4 separate regions of the Homo sapiens genome follow, and regions 1, 2 and 4 are each linked to region 3. The links are contacts of gene promoters, found by promoter capture Hi-C in blood cells and fetal thymus (Javierre and others, 2016). All regions are on one chromosome and are shown on one strand. Each heading gives the region's core, a stretch centred on a gene start or on the middle of the fragment in contact. The rest is flanking DNA. Distances are from core to core; before and after follow the strand shown. Region 1 overlaps ZNF185 (zinc finger protein 185 with LIM domain). Region 2 holds the start of LAGE3 (L antigen family member 3). Region 3 holds the start of NAA10 (N-alpha-acetyltransferase 10, NatA catalytic subunit). Region 4 overlaps FAM50A (family with sequence similarity 50 member A).

Region 1 (2,766 bases), core at 19-2,518, 980 kb after region 3:
AAATGGTCTCTCTTCAACTGGAATAACAAAACTGATTGAAATGTATGATTATGAGGACATCATAACCTATGAATGACATGCTGAGACTGGAAACCTAAAATGATGGTAACTAGGTAACTAAAAGTGGTGCTAAGGCCCTAAGTTTTGGTCACACTCTCACCTAAGTGAGAACCTGGCCAATAAGGGGAAATATTTTTTTTTTTTTTTTTTAGGTGGAGTCTCGCTCTGTCACCAGGCTGGAGTGCAGTGGCGTGATCTTGGCTCACTGCAACCTCTGACTGCCAGGTTCAAGTGATTCTCTTGCCTCAGCCTCCCGAGTAGCTGGGATTACAGGCGCATGCCACCGCGCCCGGCTAATTTTTGTATTTTTAGTAGAGACAGGGTTTCACCATGTTGGCCATGATGGTCTCGATCTCCTGAGCTCGTGATCTGCCCGCCTCAGCCTCCCTAAGTGCTGGGATTACAGGCATGAGCCACCACGCCCAGCCAAGGGGAATTTTTTAAACAAAATTCTGGCAAGCCATTGTTGTGTACTGAGCTCATGCACTAGGACCCAACAGACCAAACCAAACAAAATGGAGTTGCTCATGCTAAATGTAACATAATCAAACTAAGACTTTAAGGAAACAAATAGTTATTAAAACAGACCAGGTTTTGTTTTTGTCCTGTAAACAGAACATTCTAGCATAAAGAGGTACCTTCTACTCAGTCCTTATTCTCTCCTTACAAAACCCACTGTCCTCCTGTTTCCCAGTGGGTTTCAAGACCATATAAGTACATTTACAAGGGTAATAGTGATATCAATAACTAAGGTTTTTGTCAATCTCTCAAAGTTGAGAAAATGACCAAAAAGGGGGAATTGTTAAAGCAAATTAAATACGGCCTGAGAAGGACTCCATAGTTCTATATTTGAGTCTTTGTCAATAAACTGTAACCTAGAGGCAGACAAAATTGAAAACCTAACTTAGGAGTGTGTACCTGTAACAATAGCTAACTCTTGGCCAATCCCAGCGGCCATACTTCAACCATTCATACACTGGTGAGTGTTCAAACTGTGTTCAAATAAGGCATACCCCCAACCTGTAACCAATCCAGCCGTTCTGTACCTCACTTCCAATTTCTGTACGTCATTTCCCCCCCTCCACCTTTTTTTTAATCTATAAATCTTCCACCATGTAGCTGCACTGGAGTCTCTGTGAATCTGCTGTGATTCTGGGGGCTGCCCGATTCACAAATAGTTCATTGCTCAATGAAACTCCTTTAAATTTAATCCGGCTGAGGTTTTTCTTTTATCACCATGTACCTGCGTCCTGCACCTCACCTCTTACATGTCTCATAGGTGTTACATTTAACATGCCCCCAAACATTTCTTCTACCTCGCTGGTTGAGAGTCTGAGTCAATGAGGTGATAACAGTTTTTTGAGATGAACAACACAGGGGGAGATACAGAATTAGTACATTAGTTAATTTGTTTTATTTGGTTGTTTTTGGTGAGAAGCTGTGTTGATAAAGATGGTTTGGGACATGCTGAGTTTTGGAAGGTGGCAGAAGTCCATAAGGCTACCTCACGGAACTACATATAGGTGAGCCTGCTGCTCCTACCAGTTGTTTCCCCTTGTTTCTCAAGAGTCTTAAGCCAGAAACCCAGAATGGATTATTGCCTGAAGGATGATCAAGTGTTCACAGCTGTCTGCTTTTTACCCTCTCCTTTGCCTTGACAGAATGTTAGGCAGGCTTCTGTCCTCCCCACAGGGCCTGAATTTTGCTTGCTCCTGGTTAAGTAAGTGCTGCAATGCAGAACATGCCCCACTTAGCAGCTTCTCCTGAGAACCGGCTGACCACAGGGAAACACATTTCTGGTCAAATCATGCCAAACAGGTTCCCCTTTGCTTGCCCACTGGCCCTTGAAAGTAGCTGAGCTGCTAGCTGTGCTTACTACTCCCTACTGAAAAAAAAAGGCTTTTTTTTTTTTATTATTTTGTGATGTTTTTTGTATTATTTTGTGATGTTTGCAAGTCCTGAGGTTGCAGCATTGTCCCTATTGCAATAGTCTTTTTAAATAAAGTATTGGTCGGGCACGGTGGCTCACACCTGTAATCCCAGCACTTTGAGAGGCCAAGGCGGGTGAATCACTTGGGGTCAGGAGTTCAAGACCAGCCTGGCCAGCATGGCGAAACCCCATCTCTATTAAAAATTGAAAAATTAGCTGGGCATGGTGGCGCACGCCTGTAATTCCAGCTACTCAGAAGGCTGAGGCGGGAGAATTGCTTAAACCCGGGAGGTGGTGGTTGCAGTGAGCTGAGATGGCACCTACACTCCAGCCTGGGTGACAGAGAAAGGCTCTGTCTCAAAAATAATAAAATAAAATAAAATAAAAGTCTCTATCTAAATCCATATTTGTTTTTTGTTTTTGAGACAGGGTCTCGCTCTGTCACCCAAGCTGGAGTGCAGTGGTGCAATAATAGTTCACTGCAGCCTCAACTCCTGGGCTCAAGCAATCCTCCACTACTTCAGCCTCCCAGGTAGCTGGGACTATAGGCACACACCACCATGCCTGGCTAATTTTTAAAATTTTTATAGATATAGGAGTCTCGCTATGTTACCCAGGCTGGTCTCGAACCCTTGGGCTCAAGTGATCTTCCTCCCTCAGCTTCTCAAGTGCTGGGATTACAGGTGTGAGCCATTGCACCCTGCCCAGAGACGGTATTTGCTTTTATTGGACACTTTTTATGGTTCTGTGATTCAGTTACTTTGATTCTGTTAAAT
Region 2 (2,883 bases), core at 375-2,874, 540 kb before region 3:
GTTGAGGGAGGTCAAGGAAAGATGCTGGCTTCCACAGCAGACTAGCAGTGGAGAGCGAGAAGTGGGCTGATGTGGAACCTATTTCAGAGGGAAACCCAACAGGATTTGCTGATATAGTTCAGTGTTTAATCCTTCCTTATGACTGCAAAGGAGGAAAATAGGTTGTCCAAACATGACAAACACTGTTGGAAATTTTATGTCACTTTATTTATTCATTTTTTATTTTTATTATTTTTCTTTTTGAGACAGTCTCCCTCTGTCGCCCAGGCTGGAGTGCAGTGGCGTGATGTCGGCTCACCACAACCTCCACCTCCCGGGTTCAAGTGATTCTTCTGTCCCAGCCTCCCGAATAGCTGGGACTACAGGCGCACACCACGACACGCAGCTAATTTTTGTTATTTTTAGTAGGGCCGGGGGTTTCACCATGTTGGCCAGGATGGTGTTGAACTCCTGACTTCAAGTGATCCACCCGCCTCGGCCTCCCAAAGTACTGGGATTATAGGCGTGAGCCACCGTGCCCGGACTGATGTCACTTTAAATACTTTTTTTTTTATTGTAAATGTCATAAAAGACCACTTCGGAAAAATTGGAGGGAAAACACAAAAAGGAAATTAAAGTCACCCACCATACTATTAGCAGAGATCATGAGGATTTACCTGACGCTGTATTGTTCTAGGATTTCTCTACATATGTACAGTAAGAGACTAAGTTGGCATTTTCTTTTATTTTTTGAGGCGGGGTCTGGCTCTATCAACCAGGCTGGAGTGCGGTGGGGCGATCACGGCTAACTGCAGCCTCTGCCTCCCGGGCTCAGGCTGTCCTCCCATCTCAGCCTCCCTAGTAGCTGGGACCACAGGTGTGCACCATCACACCCAGCTAATTTTTGTATTTTTTGTAGAGGCAGGGTTTCACTATGTTGCCCAGGCTGGTGTCGAACTCCCGGGCTCAAGCAATCAACCCTCCTCAGCCTCCAAGAAGCTATGACTACAGGCACGCTCCACCACTCCCAGCTAACTTTTAAAATTTATTTTTGTATTTTTTGTAGAGACGGGGTCTCACTATGTTGCCTGTGTTTGTCTTGAACTCCTGGGCTCAAGTGATCCTCCTCCCTTGGCCTTCCAAAGTGCTGGGATTCCAAGCGGGGGCCACTTTGCCTGGCCTAAACTGGCATTTTCATACTCATAGTTGTGCAGTCTGATTTTTCACGTTATATTAGACCTAGACCCACCGCCAGTACTTTCATTCAAGGCCCTGTCATTTTTCGCCTCCGTGCAGGCCTCCTGCTGACAGGCTCCCCCGCTCTGCACAGCCCACCCGCTCTAAAATGCTTCCTCTAAAATGCACATCCGATGCTTCACAGTCCATGGTGAAGCCCCGTTGGTTGGGCACTGGGGTTGAGGGCAAGAGCAGTATCCTTGGGGGTTACCCGACCCGGCCACCCTCCCTCTGCGAATCGCAACATGGACGTTGTGCCACATCTCCTGGGGCTCTTGGGTCCAGGTAAGAAACGGGGCGGGAAGCCGTCCAGGCACCGCAGGGCCTCACTGGGGCCTCCAGGGACAAGGGGGAAGGCCCCGCCAGCGCAGGCGCGCTAAGGTCACAAGGCGCGCTTAGGGGCGGAGCCTCGCGGGGTGCGCCTCTGGGATAGGCGACCACGGTGTCTTCAAAAGCCCCGTCAGGGTTGGCTTCCTGGGGCCGGACCGACTGTGGGTCAGTTTGCACCAGCGCTCTGGAATCGAGTTACGCGCGAAAGGGCAGAGTTTCTGGAGGAAACCGCAGCCTCTCAACCGCTGACCGGGTCTCAGAAGGCCCCCGGCAGGGCCGCTTGGCGGGAACTGACCACGCGCCAGTCAGGCTCTCCAGGGACCTGCGCAGGCGCGTGTGGGCGGAGTCGTGCGCAGGGGGCGGGGCTTCGGGAAGGAGCCACAGAGAGGGCGGGGCGTAGGACCTGCGCTTCGGGGGTGGAGTCGGAGCGGCGCGGCGGCGGTCATGCGGGACGCGGATGCAGACGCAGGCGGAGGCGCTGACGGCGGGGATGGCCGGGGTGGCCACAGCTGCCGCGGGGGCGTGGACACAGCCGCAGCTCCGGCCGGTGGAGCTCCCCCAGCGCACGCGCCAGGTCCGGGCAGAGACGCCGCGTCTGCGGCCAGGGGGTCACGAATGCGGCCGCACATATTGTATCCTTTCCGAGCTGGGGGCTGCTTGCGGCGGAGCGAGGGCTGGACTCGGGGAGAAGGAAAGGAGGGCGGGCGGGGGGCCGACGGAAAGGGTAGCAGGGGGGGACCGGGGCTGGCGTATACGGTCAGAGGTGGTCGGAGGAGGGGAAGACATTGAAATGGAGGGAGAAGCTCTGCTAACGGTGGCCTGGGCGAGGTAAGGAGTGAAGGGGGTGACACTAGGCAGGGTGACCTGAGAGGGGGCTTCAGAGGAGCAAGAAGGCCTGAGACATAGGCAAGATCGTATCAGATGGCACCTTAACCGAATGACCCCCAGCACCCTCAGCGTGCCTTTCCCGACCCCCTTGGAGGCGGAAATCGCCCATGGGTCCCTGGCACCAGATGCCGAGCCCCACCAAAGGGTGGTTGGGAAGGATCTCACAGTGAGTGGCAGGATCCTGGTCGTGTAAGTTCTGAAAGGGACGGGGTTGGGGGAGGCGGCCCATGGAGACATGGGGGACATCCAAGGATGAGCCCTAAGGAGCGCCAGGTGCGCTGGGCCGGTCTCTGCCTGAGGGGCTGTGTAATGGCAGGGCTCCCAAGGGTTTGCTATATTGGGTGCCTGAGGGGCAGAGCGAGGGACCAGGAGTTGCCACCTCCAATTTGATTTTCTTTTCCCCTCACTTTTAGCCGCTGGAAAGCTGAAGACTGTCGCCTGCTCCGAATT
Region 3 (2,712 bases), core at 213-2,712:
AGTCTGGCTCTGTTGCCCAGGCTGGAGTGCAGTGGCGCGATCTTGGCTCACTGCAAGCTCCGCCTCCCGGGTTCACGCCATTCTCCTGCCTCAGCCTCCCGAGTAGCTGGGACTACAGGTGCCCGCCACCACTCCCGGCTAATTTTTTGTATTTTAGTAGAGACGGGATTTCACTGTGTTAGCCAGGATGGTCTCGATCTCCTGACCTTGTGATCCGCCCGCCTCGGCCTCCCAAAGTGCTGGGATTACAGGTGTGAGCCTTTGCACCCGGCCGGGTTCTTTGTTTCTTTGAATCAACGTAACCACGACTACAATCACAATAGAGAACTTTTTTGTTTGTTTGTTTGTTCGTTTGTTTGTTTGTTTGAGATGGAGTCTCGCTCTGTCACCCAGGCTGGAGCGCAATGGCGTGATCTCAGCTCACTGCAACCTCCGCCTCCTGTGTTCAAGCTATTCTCCCGCCTCAGCCTCCCGAGTATACTGCTGGGATTACAAGTGCGTGCCACCACGTCCGGCTAATTTTGTATTTTTAGTAGAGATGAGGTTTCACCATGTTGTCCAGGCTGATCTTGAACTCCTGACCTCAGGTGATCCGCCCGCCTCGGCCTCCGAAAGTGCTGGGATTACAGGCGCAAGCCACAGCTCCCGGCCCGATAGACAACGTTTCTACACCCCAGGGCAGAGTTCTTTCATTCCATCTAGCAGTGTCTCATCCCCTTGCCCAGTCGGTTATATAGTTGTAGCCTGCCTGCTGCGCCCACCCCTGCTTTCATCTTTGTGGAGGACGCAGTGTCGCGGTTAAGATCGCTGGTTCTGGAGCCACGTCACCTGGGGTCAACCCAGGCTCTGACCCCTGGTAGCGATGCAGTGGCATCTGGGCGGGTCCTGCAGGCGCTAGCTGTCACTGTCTCTGTTATTCCAGTTTCGCGATCCCGAGTACGGGGAATGGTTTGGCTACCTGAGCCGAGAGGGCAAGGTGGCCCTCTCCATCAAGGGAGGTCCTTTCAAAGGTGAGTGGGGGAGAGGGCGGGGCCGCAGGGGTTGCGCCTCTCGGCTGCCCCCGGCCCTCACTACCTGCCCGCCTCTACCCGCAGGCTGCTTCCACGTGCCGCGGTGCCTAGCCATGTGCGAGGAGATGCTGGGCGCCCTGCTGAGCCGCCCCGCCCCCGCCCCCTCCCCCGCCCCCACCCCCGCCTGCCGAGGCGCGGAATAAAGGCTGAGTCCGCTCCACCTGCGGCTGTGCGCGCGTCTGTGGGCTCGCGGGAGGGGGGCTGTCGCGCCGAGGGAGGGGCCGGCTCCAGCTCCGGGGCAGCGCCCGCCCCGCCCCCAGGCCCGCCCCGCGCTGACCGGCTCCGCGCATTGGCCCGCCCCGTGCGCTGGCCTGTCCCGCGCATTGGCCAAGCGGCCGGGAGGACGGGCCCGGCGGCCGTGCACTTCCGGCCGGTGGCCGGCCCGGCGCGCACCGCCCCTTCCGCCGTCGCCCAGCGAGCCCAGCTCCGGTCCCAGCCCCGGCCGTCCCGGCGTCGCTTCGGAGCGCGGCGGCAGCTGACTGCGCCTTCACGATCCGCTGGGACCCGCGAGCCCCGCCGCCGTTATGAACATCCGCAATGCGAGGGTGAGCGCCCGGGGCGGGAGGCTGTCCGCGCCGCGTGGGCGCCGGGCCGGGTGGCTGCCGCGCATGCTCCCGAGGGCCCCGGCCGAGCCCGGCCCGGTGGCCCTGAGTGTGCCTGCGGCCGCTGGACCTATGGGGCTGGCCCAGCCCGCCGAAGAGGCCGGGGCGCGGGGCCGGGGCTGCGATTCCCTCCTGTTTGCGTGATGTCGGGCCTCCGTTGGGTGGGCTCCGGGGACCTCCGGGGCGCCCACTCCTGTTCCTGTGCTCCGGGCGTTGTGCAAAGTCAGATCGTCACAGTGCCTGCCCAGCCCCGAGGGAGCGGGGCCGAGCAGACCGACGGGGAGCAGGCTTCTCACCCGTGGTCACCGCCGCCTTAGACTGAGCGCGTTCCACTGCCCTCCTTCCCTGCAGCCAGAGGACCTAATGAACATGCAGCACTGCAACCTCCTCTGCCTGCCCGAGAACTACCAGATGAAATACTACTTCTACCATGGCCTTTCCTGGCCCCAGGTGGGCAGCTTCTGAATTTGGGCATGGGGGAAAGCAGGCCGAGGAAAATCCCATCTGGCCATCTTGGAGGGAGTGGACAAGTCTGTCAGAGCCCAGGGGGCTGTATGGTCGGTGGCGTCCTGGGTGTTTTCAGCTGGCAGACAGGGGCAAAGGAAAAGAAGGCGCCCGAAGGGAGCAGAGAATAGGGGCAGGATCCCCACTTTGCGTCTTCTTTCTGGGTATGGGCAGGGCACAGTGTGGCGAGGGGGAGACCAAGCCACTCAGCCCGGAGGTCATGAGCCATCACACAACTCGCCACTCGTCCAGTTTGTGTCCCTCTAAAGGGCTCTTCTAGCTCCGACAAGAAGTTTTCTCACTCTGTTTTCCTGTCACCAGCTCTCTTACATTGCTGAGGACGAGAATGGGAAGATTGTGGGGTATGTCCTGGCCAAAATGTGAGTCACCAAGGAGGAAGACAGAAGCTACACGTGTCTGGTGGATGCCTCTGTGGGCTTTAAAAAAAATGAATAGGCTTCTTCTTTTCAGTACAGTTGAAAGTTTATAGAAAAATTGAACAGAAAGGACATGGAGTTCTTATAGCACCCCTCAGC
Region 4 (2,714 bases), core at 44-2,543, 510 kb before region 3:
CTCCGCAAACACTCACTCTTGATCTTCTCCTGCTTGGCTTCCCACTCCTGCCGCAGCTCTTCCCGAAGCCGATTCTCCTCCTCCTGGGAGAGGGAGCAGGCAGACAGGTGAGGCCCAGGGCTGCTCAGGGTGCACGCAGAGCCTGGCTCCCTAAGCAAGGGTCTCCACCAGGGCTGGAGTCGAGGCCGGGGTCAGGGCCAGGCAGCCTTTACCTCACGGTCTCGATCAGGCAAGAAGCTTGTGTCAACGTCTGGGTTCTTCCCCAGTTTTCTCTTCTTCGTGGTGATCTCTGGAACAAAAGGAAGCCGAATATCATAGCATTATTATAAAAATGATTTTGATATGGCCGACGCCCAGGGTCCCCCAAGCATACCTTGAGAACAGTCGATCTAGAAGACAAGCCTAGGGCGGGCACAGAGGCTCACGCTTGTCAACCCAACACTTGGGGAGGATGAGGCAGAAGGATCACTTGAGCCCAGGAGGTGGAGACCAGCATGGGCAACATAGCAAGACCTCGTCTCTACTAAAACTCAAAAAAATCAGCCGGGTGTGGTGGCGCACCTGTAGTACCAGCTACTCAGAAGGCTGAGGTGGGAGGATCGCTTGAGCCTGCGAGGTCGGGGCTGCAGTGAGCCGTGATCAAACCACTGCACTCTAGCCTGGGCAACAGAGTGAGACCTCATCTCAAAAAAAAAAAAAAGAAAGAAAAAAAAGAAAAGAACAACAAAAAAAGACAAATCTAAACTCTTTAGCCTGATGCTCAAGGGCAGAGATTCTAGAGCCTGGGGTCTTGTGGCTGGGCCCCCTAAACGGAACCTGTGGAGGGAGGGAAGAGCCCACCAAGCAGTGTTTTGTAAAAGCCCCAGTGACACACAGTGAGGGTGACAACCTTTCCCCCAGGCCTGCACTGTCCACGCCAGTAGCTCCCAAGTTCGAGACCAGCTTGGGCAACATGGCGAGATTCCGTCTCTACAAAAAATACAAAAATACAAAGCGCCTGTAGTCCCAGCTACTCAAGTGGCTGAGGTGGGAGGGTCCCTTGAGTCCAGGAGGTCAAGGCTGAAGTAAGCTGTGATCGCCCCTCTGCACTCCAGCCTGGGCCACAGGGAGACACTGTCTCAAAAACAACAACAACCAAAACAAAAACACAAACACAAACCAGTAGCTCCCGCTGCACACAGCACCCCAGCATTGCAGCTAGTGCGCCTGCCGCAATGGTGATATTTTGGATACGCTGGGTTAAATACAATGTCATACTAAAATCCTGCTTGTTTCTTTTTCTATGTTTTACTGTGGCTGCTGGAACATGGAACCCAAATGGCAGGTGGCTGGCAGGTTCTTCCTCCCTACAATCCTGCACTCCCCTCAAAGCCATGGCACCCAGCCTGTTACCACAGCCACACAGCACCATCCCCTGCCTCGCTTCTCTCCCTCTGCCATTCCCTGGGTGACACAATTTCCAGAACTGCCACCACACCCTCCAGGGGCCCGTGACACAACTTGCTCCCAATCTTCAAACGTTTTGAAAAGCTCTTTCCTGCTGGGCTTCTGGCATGTACTTTCTCGTCGCCCCTCCTGCCTCTCTGGCGAATGCAACTCCCCTCATCCTTAGGGCCTAACTCAACCCTCCCCTCCTTCCTTGACCCCTGGGTTAGCCCGGTGGGCCCCAAGCAGAGCAGTAACCCTGAGTAGTGTCTTCAGTGCATGGTGACCCGTGACTTCCACCAGGAGAGGGACAGCACCCTATGTGCCCTGGCCAGGCACAGCACAGGTGTGTGGCACACGTGGAGGCCAGGCTGGCTTTACCCTCACTCCCCAGCCATCCTGAGCTTTCCCTGACAGCCCCTTGTTCTCACAGCTGAGACCTGCAGTGTCTGACTAGTAGCCTCGGAATTTCTGTGGCTGTATACATTTACGCTGAAACAAATCAAACAGAATTCACCATTTAGTGCCCCAGTCATACGAGGCACCTGGGGCAAGTGGCTACCATATTGGGTGGCACAGACTCTAACATTTCCATCATCACAGAAAATGTGCCCAGCCAGCCTGGTCTAGACCAGCCTCTTCCCTCCCCGGTCTACTGTGCGCGGTGCCTCAAGAGGGCAGCTTTTGGAGCCATCTTGACAGGGCATCAGCTTTGCTGACAGCCTCTCACATTGGGGACCCCTCCCCAGGGGCTGCGGGCGGGGCTCCGACTCAAGCCAGCCCTCACCTTCCCTTTCCATCTCCTCCTCATACATGGCCGCCTCCTCTTCCTCCTCGCCTCCCTCTTCTTCCTCCTCCAGGGTGAAGGACAGGCTGGAGATCTTCCGCTTGGCTTCCTTCTTACGCTCCTTCTCTCGAAGCTTCTCCAGCTTCCTAGTGAGGTGCAGGTGGCCCCATCACACATCATGTCCTTCCCGACCCTGACCCAGCCCCTTCCTTGACCCAGAGCCACCTGTGTGCCCTATGTGGGGCCTGCCCAGCCCAGGCTGGGTCCCCATTGCCCCAGACGGGTCCTGCTGTCCTGGATCACTTTGAGCTCATGGGCGAGGGCTCTGTTACAAACAGCAAGCACAGAGGGCCACAGGGGAGAGCCAAGCACAGGCTGGCAATGGGGAGAACGCAGGCTGCTCAGGCACCGGATGCTGGGAAAGGGCCCACTGCATTTAGAGGGTCAGAAAGAAGACAAGCCGCCATGGTGAAAAGACGTGAGCGTGGACCCGAGGAGGCGG

The links. The method cuts DNA at HindIII sites, captures the fragments that hold promoters and counts their contacts. A CHiCAGO score of 5 or more calls a contact.
Region 1: a contact is called between a fragment that was not itself captured here and the fragment with the promoter of NAA10 in region 3, in 5 of 17 cell types (non-activated CD4 T cells, naive B cells, naive CD4 T cells and 2 more). The highest score is 8.5, in non-activated CD4 T cells.
Region 2: a contact is called between the fragment with the promoter of LAGE3 here and the fragment with the promoter of NAA10 in region 3, in 4 of 17 cell types (monocytes, neutrophils, total CD8 T cells and 1 more). The highest score is 8.2, in monocytes.
Region 4: a fragment that was not itself captured here is called in contact with the fragment with the promoter of NAA10 in region 3 in 1 of 17 cell types (non-activated CD4 T cells); the score reaches 6.5 in non-activated CD4 T cells.

Annotation. Positions count from the first base shown.
Region 1 is chrX:152,953,344-152,956,109 of GRCh38, reverse strand. The region is part of intron 18 of ZNF185 (zinc finger protein 185 with LIM domain); the gene reads right to left. Among named protein-coding and RNA genes, the nearest start is that of PNMA5, 39 kb to the left of the region's middle. The HindIII fragment of the contact is 5,746 bases long and covers 1-2,766 here.
Region 2 is chrX:154,478,022-154,480,904 of GRCh38, reverse strand. It overlaps LAGE3 (L antigen family member 3), which reads left to right and starts at 1,624. Exons shown (of 3, transcript NM_006014.5): 1 at 1,624-2,177; 2 at 2,494-2,622; 3 at 2,847-2,883. The coding sequence starts at 1,990. RefSeq lists an enhancer at 1,250-1,749 and a silencer at 2,011-2,230. The HindIII fragment of the contact is 14,076 bases long and covers 1-2,883 here.
Region 3 is chrX:153,933,787-153,936,498 of GRCh38, reverse strand. It overlaps NAA10 (N-alpha-acetyltransferase 10, NatA catalytic subunit), which reads left to right and starts at 1,462. Exons shown (of 8, transcript NM_003491.4): 1 at 1,462-1,615; 2 at 2,024-2,122; 3 at 2,498-2,556. The coding sequence starts at 1,595. RENBP (renin binding protein) reads left to right here. Exons shown (of 11, transcript NM_002910.6): 10 at 923-1,010; 11 at 1,095-1,230. The coding sequence ends at 1,213. RefSeq lists enhancers at 192-696, 697-1,202 and a silencer at 1,193-1,772. The HindIII fragment of the contact is 15,713 bases long and covers 1-2,712 here.
Region 4 is chrX:154,446,059-154,448,772 of GRCh38, reverse strand. It overlaps FAM50A (family with sequence similarity 50 member A), which reads right to left. Exons shown (of 13, transcript NM_004699.4): 4 at 2,213-2,358; 5 at 213-289; 6 at 17-83. Among named protein-coding and RNA genes, the nearest start is that of MIR6858, 2.9 kb to the left of the region's middle. The HindIII fragment of the contact is 2,108 bases long and covers 240-2,347 here.